2 separate regions of the Homo sapiens genome follow, and region 1 is linked to region 2. The links are contacts of gene promoters, found by promoter capture Hi-C in human tissues and cell types (Jung and others, 2019). All regions are on one chromosome and are shown on one strand. The core of a region is centred on a gene start or on the middle of the fragment in contact, and the rest is flanking DNA. Distances in the headings are between cores, read along the strand shown. Region 1 overlaps STAT3 (signal transducer and activator of transcription 3). Region 2 holds the start of DHX58 (DExH-box helicase 58).

What was found. The method cuts DNA at HindIII sites, captures the fragments that hold promoters and counts their contacts. A contact is called where the count stands out against the background at its distance.
Region 1: a contact is called between a fragment that was not itself captured here and the fragment with the promoter of DHX58 in region 2, in 2 of the 25 tissues and cell types used here (lymphoblastoid cells and pancreas).

The regions. Positions count from the first base shown.
Region 1 is chr17:42,313,133-42,318,086 of GRCh38, reverse strand. It overlaps STAT3 (signal transducer and activator of transcription 3), which reads left to right. Exons shown (of 24, transcript NM_139276.3): 22 at 863-905; 23 at 1,186-1,298; 24 at 2,287-4,763. The coding sequence ends at 2,342. Among named protein-coding and RNA genes, the nearest start is that of STAT5A, 27 kb to the right of the region's middle. The HindIII fragment of the contact is 8,739 bases long and covers 1-4,954 here.
Region 2 is chr17:42,109,898-42,115,318 of GRCh38, reverse strand. DHX58 (DExH-box helicase 58) reads left to right here and starts at 2,605. Exons shown (of 14, transcript NM_024119.3): 1 at 2,605-2,714; 2 at 3,114-3,206; 3 at 3,426-3,594; 4 at 3,822-4,023; 5 at 4,406-4,596. The coding sequence starts at 3,427. It overlaps KAT2A (lysine acetyltransferase 2A), which reads left to right. Exons shown (of 18, transcript NM_021078.3): 13 at 284-427; 14 at 715-829; 15 at 925-961; 16 at 1,037-1,100; 17 at 1,235-1,319; 18 at 1,477-2,208. The coding sequence ends at 1,670. RefSeq lists enhancers at 2,238-2,757, 2,998-3,097. The HindIII fragment of the contact is 12,117 bases long and covers 1-5,421 here.

The DNA of each region.
Region 1 (4,954 bases), core at 34-2,533, 200 kb before region 2:
CAGCTGCTTGGGAGCCTAAGGCAGGAGAATCGTTTTGACCTGGGAGTAGGAGGTTGCGGTAACCGAGATTGTGCCACTGCACTTGAGCCTGGGCAACAGAGTGAGACTCTGTCTCAAAACAATAAGAACAACAGCAACAAAAGAGAGAGACCATGCCTTGCTCCAGGTCTCTTAGCTATTGAAGATGTACCTGGACCCAGGTCTCCGGTCTTCTAGTTGAAGCAATTGTACTGCCTTACAAAGTCACATTCTCTTTGGTGCTTTTTGATTGACGTATTTATCCAACTAGAAAGTTACTCATGCCCTCATCCAAAAATGTGGTAGAGGCCAGATTAGTGCTGGTAGGAATAAGAGATATAACCTTTGGCTTTGGAACCACAAGCATTAGCAGTCTCCATGTTCTTTAAAGACTTGGTGATATTGGTATTTAGGCTGGACACCATGCAAAGACTACACAGGCTCGGTTCCTGCATGCAGAGAAGTTATCTAAGAGATATGACCAGGCCGGAATAGAATGCTCAGACCACGTGGAGGCTGTTAAACTTTTACATAATCTAGGGAAAGAAGGGACACAAGGTGGCATTAGTCTAGGGTCAGGTGGGAAAAGGTTATGCTGAAAAGTCTCTGCAGCTCAGGACAGCTTTGTGCAAAGAACTGAAGTTCACAGCTGCTAGTGCCTGGGAGATCAAATAGTATAAATGAGGGCAGACAACCCTGAGGGGCAGATGGAGCTTTCCAGACAATCTTGGCATGAGGATGAGTGAGTTTCAAATCAGTCCTGCCGAGGCAGATGGCTTCCTCCAGCTCTGCTTACTGAATGCGAAGTCACAGTCAGTAAGAAAACTGGTTTTCTTCTTCCCAGGCGCTGCCCCATACCTGAAGACCAAGTTTATCTGTGTGACACCGTAAGTGGCTTCCTTTCCCCGTTTTGCCTTCATTTCTAATATCCTCAGTTATCCCTGGGAATGGGACACTGGGTGAGAGTTAATCTGCCAAAGGTTGGAAGCCCCTGGGCTATGTTTAGTACTCAAAGTGACCTTGTGTGTTTAAAAAGCTTGAGCTTTTATTTTTCTGTTGGAGACCAGAGTTTGATGGCTTGTGTGTGTGTGTTTTGTTCTTTTTTTTTTTTCCATTGTGTCTTGTCAACCCCCCGTTTCCCCTCCTGCTGCCCCCCATTTCCTACAGAACGACCTGCAGCAATACCATTGACCTGCCGATGTCCCCCCGCACTTTAGATTCATTGATGCAGTTTGGAAATAATGGTGAAGGTGCTGAACCCTCAGCAGGAGGGCAGTTTGGTGAGTATTTGGTTGACAGACTTTGTCCCTATAAGGGAAGTTGGTCCCCTTTGTGTGATGCTCTCACATGTACACACCGAGAGCTGGTCACTCGGAATGGTAGGAGATTCTAGAGCTTTGCTTTCCAAAAGAGATGGTATGAATGCCACATGTGTGAGTATAAATCTTCTAGCAGCCACACTGGAAATAGACGAACTTAATTTTTACAATATATTTTATTTAACCCACTAAATCCAACATACTCTCAATTTAACATTTCAGAAAAAGTTGAGGCTGGGTGAGTGGCTCATGCCTGTAATCCCAGCACTTTGGGAGGCCGAGGTGGGTGGATCACTTGAGGTCAGGAGTTCGAGACCAGTCTGACCAAAATCTCTAAAATATAAAAATTAGCTGGGCATGGTGGCGCATACCTGTAATCCCAGCTACTCAAGAAGCTGAGGTGGGAGGATCGCTTGAGCCTGGGAGGTGGAGGTTGCAGTGAGCAGAGATCGTGCCACTGCACTCCAGCCTGGGCGACAGAGTGAGACTCCATCTCAAATAAACAAAACTAAACTAAAAAGAAAAAGTTGAGACCTTTTTTTATTCTTTTTTTTCATACTAAGCCTTTAAAATCCAGTGGGCTTTTGACAGCCACAGCACAGCTCAGTTTGGACAAACCAAATCTCAAATGCTTGGTGGCCACGTGTGTCTCGGGGCTCCTGAATTAAACAGTAGATCAAGGGCAGAAGATCTCAGGACAGCCTTAGAGCTTCTGTAAACATGGAGCTCTGGGAATCAGTTAAGGTGGGAATGAGAAAGGACCCTTCCCGAGGCAGGGTCCTCCAGGGAGGAGGGTAAATCTGGCTTTTCTGACCATCCCTGGGCCTTAAGGGGCAGGAGATTGGATAGCAGTGGTAGCCTGGGCCCTGTCCTCTGAAGGGCTGGGGGCGTGGCCTGCCAGTTGCAGAGGGTGGACAACTGAACTAGTTTTCCCTGTCTGTCCCTCCAGAGTCCCTCACCTTTGACATGGAGTTGACCTCGGAGTGCGCTACCTCCCCCATGTGAGGAGCTGAGAACGGAAGCTGCAGAAAGATACGACTGAGGCGCCTACCTGCATTCTGCCACCCCTCACACAGCCAAACCCCAGATCATCTGAAACTACTAACTTTGTGGTTCCAGATTTTTTTTAATCTCCTACTTCTGCTATCTTTGAGCAATCTGGGCACTTTTAAAAATAGAGAAATGAGTGAATGTGGGTGATCTGCTTTTATCTAAATGCAAATAAGGATGTGTTCTCTGAGACCCATGATCAGGGGATGTGGCGGGGGGTGGCTAGAGGGAGAAAAAGGAAATGTCTTGTGTTGTTTTGTTCCCCTGCCCTCCTTTCTCAGCAGCTTTTTGTTATTGTTGTTGTTGTTCTTAGACAAGTGCCTCCTGGTGCCTGCGGCATCCTTCTGCCTGTTTCTGTAAGCAAATGCCACAGGCCACCTATAGCTACATACTCCTGGCATTGCACTTTTTAACCTTGCTGACATCCAAATAGAAGATAGGACTATCTAAGCCCTAGGTTTCTTTTTAAATTAAGAAATAATAACAATTAAAGGGCAAAAAACACTGTATCAGCATAGCCTTTCTGTATTTAAGAAACTTAAGCAGCCGGGCATGGTGGCTCACGCCTGTAATCCCAGCACTTTGGGAGGCCGAGGCGGATCATAAGGTCAGGAGATCAAGACCATCCTGGCTAACACGGTGAAACCCCGTCTCTACTAAAAGTACAAAAAATTAGCTGGGTGTGGTGGTGGGCGCCTGTAGTCCCAGCTACTCGGGAGGCTGAGGCAGGAGAATCGCTTGAACCTGAGAGGCGGAGGTTGCAGTGAGCCAAAATTGCACCACTGCACACTGCACTCCATCCTGGGCGACAGTCTGAGACTCTGTCTCAAAAAAAAAAAAAAAAAAAAGAAACTTCAGTTAACAGCCTCCTTGGTGCTTTAAGCATTCAGCTTCCTTCAGGCTGGTAATTTATATAATCCCTGAAACGGGCTTCAGGTCAAACCCTTAAGACATCTGAAGCTGCAACCTGGCCTTTGGTGTTGAAATAGGAAGGTTTAAGGAGAATCTAAGCATTTTAGACTTTTTTTTATAAATAGACTTATTTTCCTTTGTAATGTATTGGCCTTTTAGTGAGTAAGGCTGGGCAGAGGGTGCTTACAACCTTGACTCCCTTTCTCCCTGGACTTGATCTGCTGTTTCAGAGGCTAGGTTGTTTCTGTGGGTGCCTTATCAGGGCTGGGATACTTCTGATTCTGGCTTCCTTCCTGCCCCACCCTCCCGACCCCAGTCCCCCTGATCCTGCTAGAGGCATGTCTCCTTGCGTGTCTAAAGGTCCCTCATCCTGTTTGTTTTAGGAATCCTGGTCTCAGGACCTCATGGAAGAAGAGGGGGAGAGAGTTACAGGTTGGACATGATGCACACTATGGGGCCCCAGCGACGTGTCTGGTTGAGCTCAGGGAATATGGTTCTTAGCCAGTTTCTTGGTGATATCCAGTGGCACTTGTAATGGCGTCTTCATTCAGTTCATGCAGGGCAAAGGCTTACTGATAAACTTGAGTCTGCCCTCGTATGAGGGTGTATACCTGGCCTCCCTCTGAGGCTGGTGACTCCTCCCTGCTGGGGCCCCACAGGTGAGGCAGAACAGCTAGAGGGCCTCCCCGCCTGCCCGCCTTGGCTGGCTAGCTCGCCTCTCCTGTGCGTATGGGAACACCTAGCACGTGCTGGATGGGCTGCCTCTGACTCAGAGGCATGGCCGGATTTGGCAACTCAAAACCACCTTGCCTCAGCTGATCAGAGTTTCTGTGGAATTCTGTTTGTTAAATCAAATTAGCTGGTCTCTGAATTAAGGGGGAGACGACCTTCTCTAAGATGAACAGGGTTCGCCCCAGTCCTCCTGCCTGGAGACAGTTGATGTGTCATGCAGAGCTCTTACTTCTCCAGCAACACTCTTCAGTACATAATAAGCTTAACTGATAAACAGAATATTTAGAAAGGTGAGACTTGGGCTTACCATTGGGTTTAAATCATAGGGACCTAGGGCGAGGGTTCAGGGCTTCTCTGGAGCAGATATTGTCAAGTTCATGGCCTTAGGTAGCATGTATCTGGTCTTAACTCTGATTGTAGCAAAAGTTCTGAGAGGAGCTGAGCCCTGTTGTGGCCCATTAAAGAACAGGGTCCTCAGGCCCTGCCCGCTTCCTGTCCACTGCCCCCTCCCCATCCCCAGCCCAGCCGAGGGAATCCCGTGGGTTGCTTACCTACCTATAAGGTGGTTTATAAGCTGCTGTCCTGGCCACTGCATTCAAATTCCAATGTGTACTTCATAGTGTAAAAATTTATATTATTGTGAGGTTTTTTGTCTTTTTTTTTTTTTTTTTTTTTTGGTATATTGCTGTATCTACTTTAACTTCCAGAAATAAACGTTATATAGGAACCGTCTGATAGCATGGCAGCTCTGTTTGGCTGGTGGAGGCTTCCTTTTCCCCTGCATAAGTTCTGAGGGGGCCTCACACACAGGTGGGGCCTGGGATAAGGGCCGGAAAGGGTCTTGAGAGGAGGTGGTTGCCTTAATCCCCCCCGCCAACCCCCTTATGTTAGCCACCAGCCCGGAGGTAAGGGGTGCCTGGAGG
Region 2 (5,421 bases), core at 1,356-3,855:
GGAGGCTGGAGGAACTGGGGGGCCAGTAGAGGAGGCTAGAGGAACTGGGGGGCCAGTAGAGCAGGCTGGAGGAACTGGGGGACTCTTCGGGATGAGTCAGGAGTGGGCAGCTGACCTGGGACCTTTCCAGGGACAGTTTGAACCCTCACAGTGCCCCAGGAGGAGGTTCAGGAGCAGGAGGTGGCAAGTGGCACGTGCTACTCCTCTGGTGCTCCCAGGTGAGGGACGACAGAAGTTGGGAAATACTTATGGATGGACTGGGTCATGACCATCCACCCCCCAGGGTTTCTCCAAGGACATCAAGGTGCCCAAGAGCCGCTACCTGGGCTACATCAAGGACTACGAGGGAGCGACGCTGATGGAGTGTGAGCTGAATCCCCGCATCCCCTACACGGAGCTGTCCCACATCATCAAGAAGCAGAAAGAGGTGGTGTGCACACATGCGCATCTGTGGGATTTTTCATGAATGGGCATGCAGAGGGCGAGCACACGTGTGTAGACCTGTTCTACGTCTACATGCATATATGTGTGTGAGTGAGGAGGGGCAGGCCAGGATCTTGGCTCTTGCTCTGCTCCCTTGGGGAAGTTATGAGGGGAGGTGCTGGATTAGGTGGCGTTGCAGCTGGGTGGGTGCAGCCAGTGGCTCCGACTGTGGCCCTGGGAGGGGTTGTTGTTGGGGCTGGAGTTGGCCCCTCAGTCCCTTCCTTCCCTCAGATCATCAAGAAGCTGATTGAGCGCAAACAGGCCCAGATCCGCAAGGTCTACCCGGGGCTCAGCTGCTTCAAGGAGGGCGTGAGGCAGATCCCTGTGGAGAGCGTTCCTGGCATTCGTAAGCAGGGGTCTCAGTTGCAGGGTAGTGGGGGCACGATGCTTGGGGTGTGGACTGGCATTCTTAGAGACATTCTCCCACTTCCCACTTTGCAGGAGAGACAGGCTGGAAGCCATTGGGGAAGGAGAAGGGGTGAGTGTCAAAGGAGCCGGGTTGGGGGTGGGGCAGAGGGACTTGGAGCCTCAGACTTGGTGTCTCTCGCCCCAGGAAGGAGCTGAAGGACCCCGACCAGCTCTACACAACCCTCAAAAACCTGCTGGCCCAAATCAAGGTGGGGAGACCAGGTTTCCTTTCCAGGGCCCCTGCACCAATGGCTGTGGCCTCTTGATGCAGTGTGGGGTGGGTAGTGGTCTCGGGCTGGCGTGGGCGCAGCAGGGCTGTCCCCAGCCCGGCTCTTCTCTCCAGTCTCACCCCAGTGCCTGGCCCTTCATGGAGCCTGTGAAGAAGTCGGAGGCCCCTGACTACTACGAGGTCATCCGCTTCCCCATTGGTGAGGACCTTCCATTCCATCCCCTTCCCTCCTCTTCTGTCCCCACACCTGCTCCTGCCCTCACTGCGCCCTGCAGCCCCAGGGGGCCCACCCTGGTGGACAGCCCTGCCGTGGTCTTCAGCCTCTTAAAGCTGTGCTCCGTCTCCTGCTGCCCCAGACCTGAAGACCATGACTGAGCGGCTGCGAAGCCGCTACTACGTGACCCGGAAGCTCTTTGTGGCCGACCTGCAGCGGGTCATCGCCAACTGTCGCGAGTACAACCCCCCGGACAGCGAGTACTGCCGCTGTGCCAGCGCCCTGGAGAAGTTCTTCTACTTCAAGCTCAAGGAGGGAGGCCTCATTGACAAGTAGGCCCATCTTTGGGCCGCAGCCCTGACCTGGAATGTCTCCACCTCGGATTCTGATCTGATCCTTAGGGGGTGCCCTGGCCCCACGGACCCGACTCAGCTTGAGACACTCCAGCCAAGGGTCCTCCGGACCCGATCCTGCAGCTCTTTCTGGACCTTCAGGCACCCCCAAGCGTGCAGCTCTGTCCCAGCCTTCACTGTGTGTGAGAGGTCTCCTGGGTTGGGGCCCAGCCCCTCTAGAGTAGCTGGTGGCCAGGGATGAACCTTGCCCAGCCGTGGTGGCCCCCAGGCCTGGTCCCCAAGAGCTTTGGAGGCTTGGATTCCTGGGCCTGGCCCAGGTGGCTGTTTCCCTGAGGACCAGAACTGCTCATTTTAGCTTGAGTGATGGCTTCAGGGGTTGGAAGTTCAGCCCAAACTGAAGGGGGCCATGCCTTGTCCAGCACTGTTCTGTCAGTCTCCCCCAGGGGTGGGGGGTATGGGGACCATTCATTCCCTGGCATTAATCCCTTAGAGGGAATAATAAAGCTTTTTATTTCTCTGTGTGATTGTTTCTTTGGTGTAGTCCCAGCCTTAGCAGGCTCACCTTGGCCCCCAGGGACCTCTTGCAAACTGGAGGCTGCTCTCCCCAGCAAGCCTCAGGCCTGGTCCTGTGCTCCTGGGGTGATGGGTCCTACCTGCCTGCAGCCCCCCACCTCTCCCTCCTCCAGGCTGCTCCTGATCCAGATGCCAGGGCAGCAGGGGTCAGAACCTCCTGCCTTCACCTTAACCTGGGTGGATGTGGTTACAACTGACTGCAGAAGGGCCAGAGCGTAGAGGATCCTGTAGCACTGAAAGAGTGCTTCCCTGTTAGCACACGTGGTTCTTTTTCTTGGGGCAGGGATAGGAGATTCGTAAGTCGGCTCAGCTGGCTCCTCCCCTCAGTTTCAGTTTCCATTTCTGATTTCTGCTCTCTGCGCTGAGCACAGCGGCACCAGGCTGAGCTAAGCAGGGCCGCCTTGGGCAGGCCTACGTGGTGGTGCAGGCGAGACCCAGGCTGGGCAAGGCGCAGGTGTAGCCTGTGTTACTCCCACCCCCCCCCACCCCCACCTTTTGGCCACAGCAGGCTTCTGATGAGTTTTGAGGGTGTCCCCCCCCCCACCTCCCTCAAGTGGGGTGGAGTCCTGGGCAAAGGGAGGTCTCTGTACCGACTGCTCTGGCCAGGAGTTGGGATGAGTGGAGGGCCCAGTGGGTCTGAGTCCCCTGCCATTCCCAGAATGGAGCTGTGGCCCTACCAATGGGAGGTGATCATGCCTGCCAGGGCGCTGGCGCAGCAGCAGTACTTAACCGGAGTTTGTACTCACGGCAGTTGGCGATGACTGTTAGCACAAACGGTTCTTTTCTCTTGGTTCTTTTTCCTGGGGCGGGGATGGGAGATTCCTAAGTCGGCTCAGCTGGCTCCTTCCCTCAGTTTCAGTTTCCATCTTGGGTCTCTGAGCTGAGCAGAGTGGCACCAGGCTGAGTTAAGTGGGACTGCCCTGGGCAGACCTACCTACTAGAGCAGGTGAGTCCTGGGCTGGGCAGGGGGCAGGTGTAGCCTGTGTTACTCCCGCCTCCCCCTTTTGGGCAGAGCAGGGTCCTGATGGGTTCTGAGGGAGTCCTGCCCCACCTCCCTCAAGTGGGGTGGAGTCCTGGGCAAAGGGAGGTCTCTGTACTGACTGGTCTGGCCAGGAGTTGGGAGGGGTGGAGGAGTCGGTGGGTCTGAGTCCCCTGCCATTCCCAGAATGGAGCTTCGGTCCTACCAATGGGAGGTGATCATGCCTGCCCTGGAGGGCAAGAATATCATCATCTGGCTGCCCACGGGTGCCGGGAAGACCCGGGCGGCTGCTTATGTGGCCAAGCGGCACCTAGAGACTGTGGATGGAGCCAAGGTGGTTGTATTGGTCAACAGGGTGAGTGGTCTGTCCCTACCCCGCTCTCCCACCACCAAGCAGGGTCTTAGCTCTTCAGGCATCTCCCAGTCCCCACCAGAACTCCAAAGCTGCTGTGGCCATCGCTAAGCTCACCTGTCTTTCCACCCTGGCTCAGTACCCAGCCATGTCCTGCGGGTCACCTTACCGCCTCCCTACCCCTGGCCCCAGATTCAGCTCTCTTTTCCCAGCTCATTCTCCACCCCCAGGTGCACCTGGTGACCCAGCATGGTGAAGAGTTCAGGCGCATGCTGGATGGACGCTGGACCGTGACAACCCTGAGTGGGGACATGGGACCACGTGCTGGCTTTGGCCACCTGGCCCGGTGCCATGACCTGCTCATCTGCACAGCAGAGCTTCTGCAGATGGCACTGACCAGCCCCGAGGAGGAGGAGCACGTGGAGCTCACTGGTGAGGGCCATGGCCGGGAGGAAAAAGATACGCATCTGGGGTACCTCCTTTCGCCAACCCCAGGGCACCTCCTGGAGTCAAGGTGTTGGGAGTTTTAGTGGGAGTGAGGGGTTGCCTGTTCACAAAACCCCTGCAGGCACTCTAGTAGAAACAGGCCGGGCTATCGTGTAGGATCTTAGGCCAGTCCCTTCCCCAGCTGAGCCTCGGTTTACTAATCTGTGAAATGGAAAGAAGTCTTCCCTGCCTGGCTCCTCATCCTGGGACCAGCTGCAGGTTGTGAAGGGAAGAAGGAATTCTTACATCATTGTGGGGACTACTTGAAAGCTGATGGGAGGAAGGGCTTTGCAAACATAGGTCACAGCCTTCCCCCCTGTGCCCTCAGTCTTCTCCCTGATCGTGGTGGATGAGTGCCACCACACGCACAAGGACACCGTCTACAACGTCATCATGAGCCAGTACCTAGAACTTAAACTCCAGAGGGCACAGCCGCTACCCCAGGTGCTGGGTCTCACAGCCTCCCCAGGCACTGGCGGGGCCTCCAAACTCGATGGGGCCATCAACCACGTCCTGCAGGTCAGCCTGGCCCCTGTGGGCCTCCCACTGCCAGACCCACCAGGGACTTCCCTCCCTCCCTGCCTGCCCTGCCACTACCCCGTCCCCACCAGCCCTACCAGGCTCTCCATGGCAGGGTCTGGCCCCTTCCTCACCTAAGACCCAGCCTCCAATGGTTTCTTATGGTACAAAGAATTAACTCCCGACTCTACTGTGGTTTACAAAGTTCCACGTGATCTACCTCTCCACCTCATTTCCTGCGCCCTCCCTGTTGTAGCTCATCCTACAGTTACACTGGCCTGCCTTCTGCATGTTGAACATGTAGGGCTTGTTCCATCTCGGGGACCTTTGCATTTACCATTTCTTTTGCCTAGAATGCGCTTCCCTTTGAACTTTTCCTGCTGCCTCCTCCTTGTCATTCATTGAACAGCTTAATGCCACCTCTTGAAAGTCCTCCCTGATCTCTGCTCTCTGTCATATCATCCAGTGCTATCCTCTTCAGAGCTTGTTAATGCGCTCTGCAAGGTTTTATTGTTTTCTTTTTTTTTTTTTTTTTTGAGATGGAGTCTCACTCTGTCGCCCAGGCTGGAGGGCAGTGGCATGATTTCGGCTCCCTGCAACCTCCGCCTCCCAGGTTCAAGCGATTCTCCTGCCTCAGCCTCCCGAGTAGCTGGGATTACAGGCACCCACCACTATGCCCAGCTAATTTTTTGTATTTTTAGTAGAGACGGGGTTTCACCGTGTTGGCCATGCTGGTCTCGAACTCCTGACCTCGTGATTCACCTGCCTTGGCCTCCCATAGTGCTGGGATTACAGGCGTGAGCCACTGTGCCCAGCCTCTTTTTT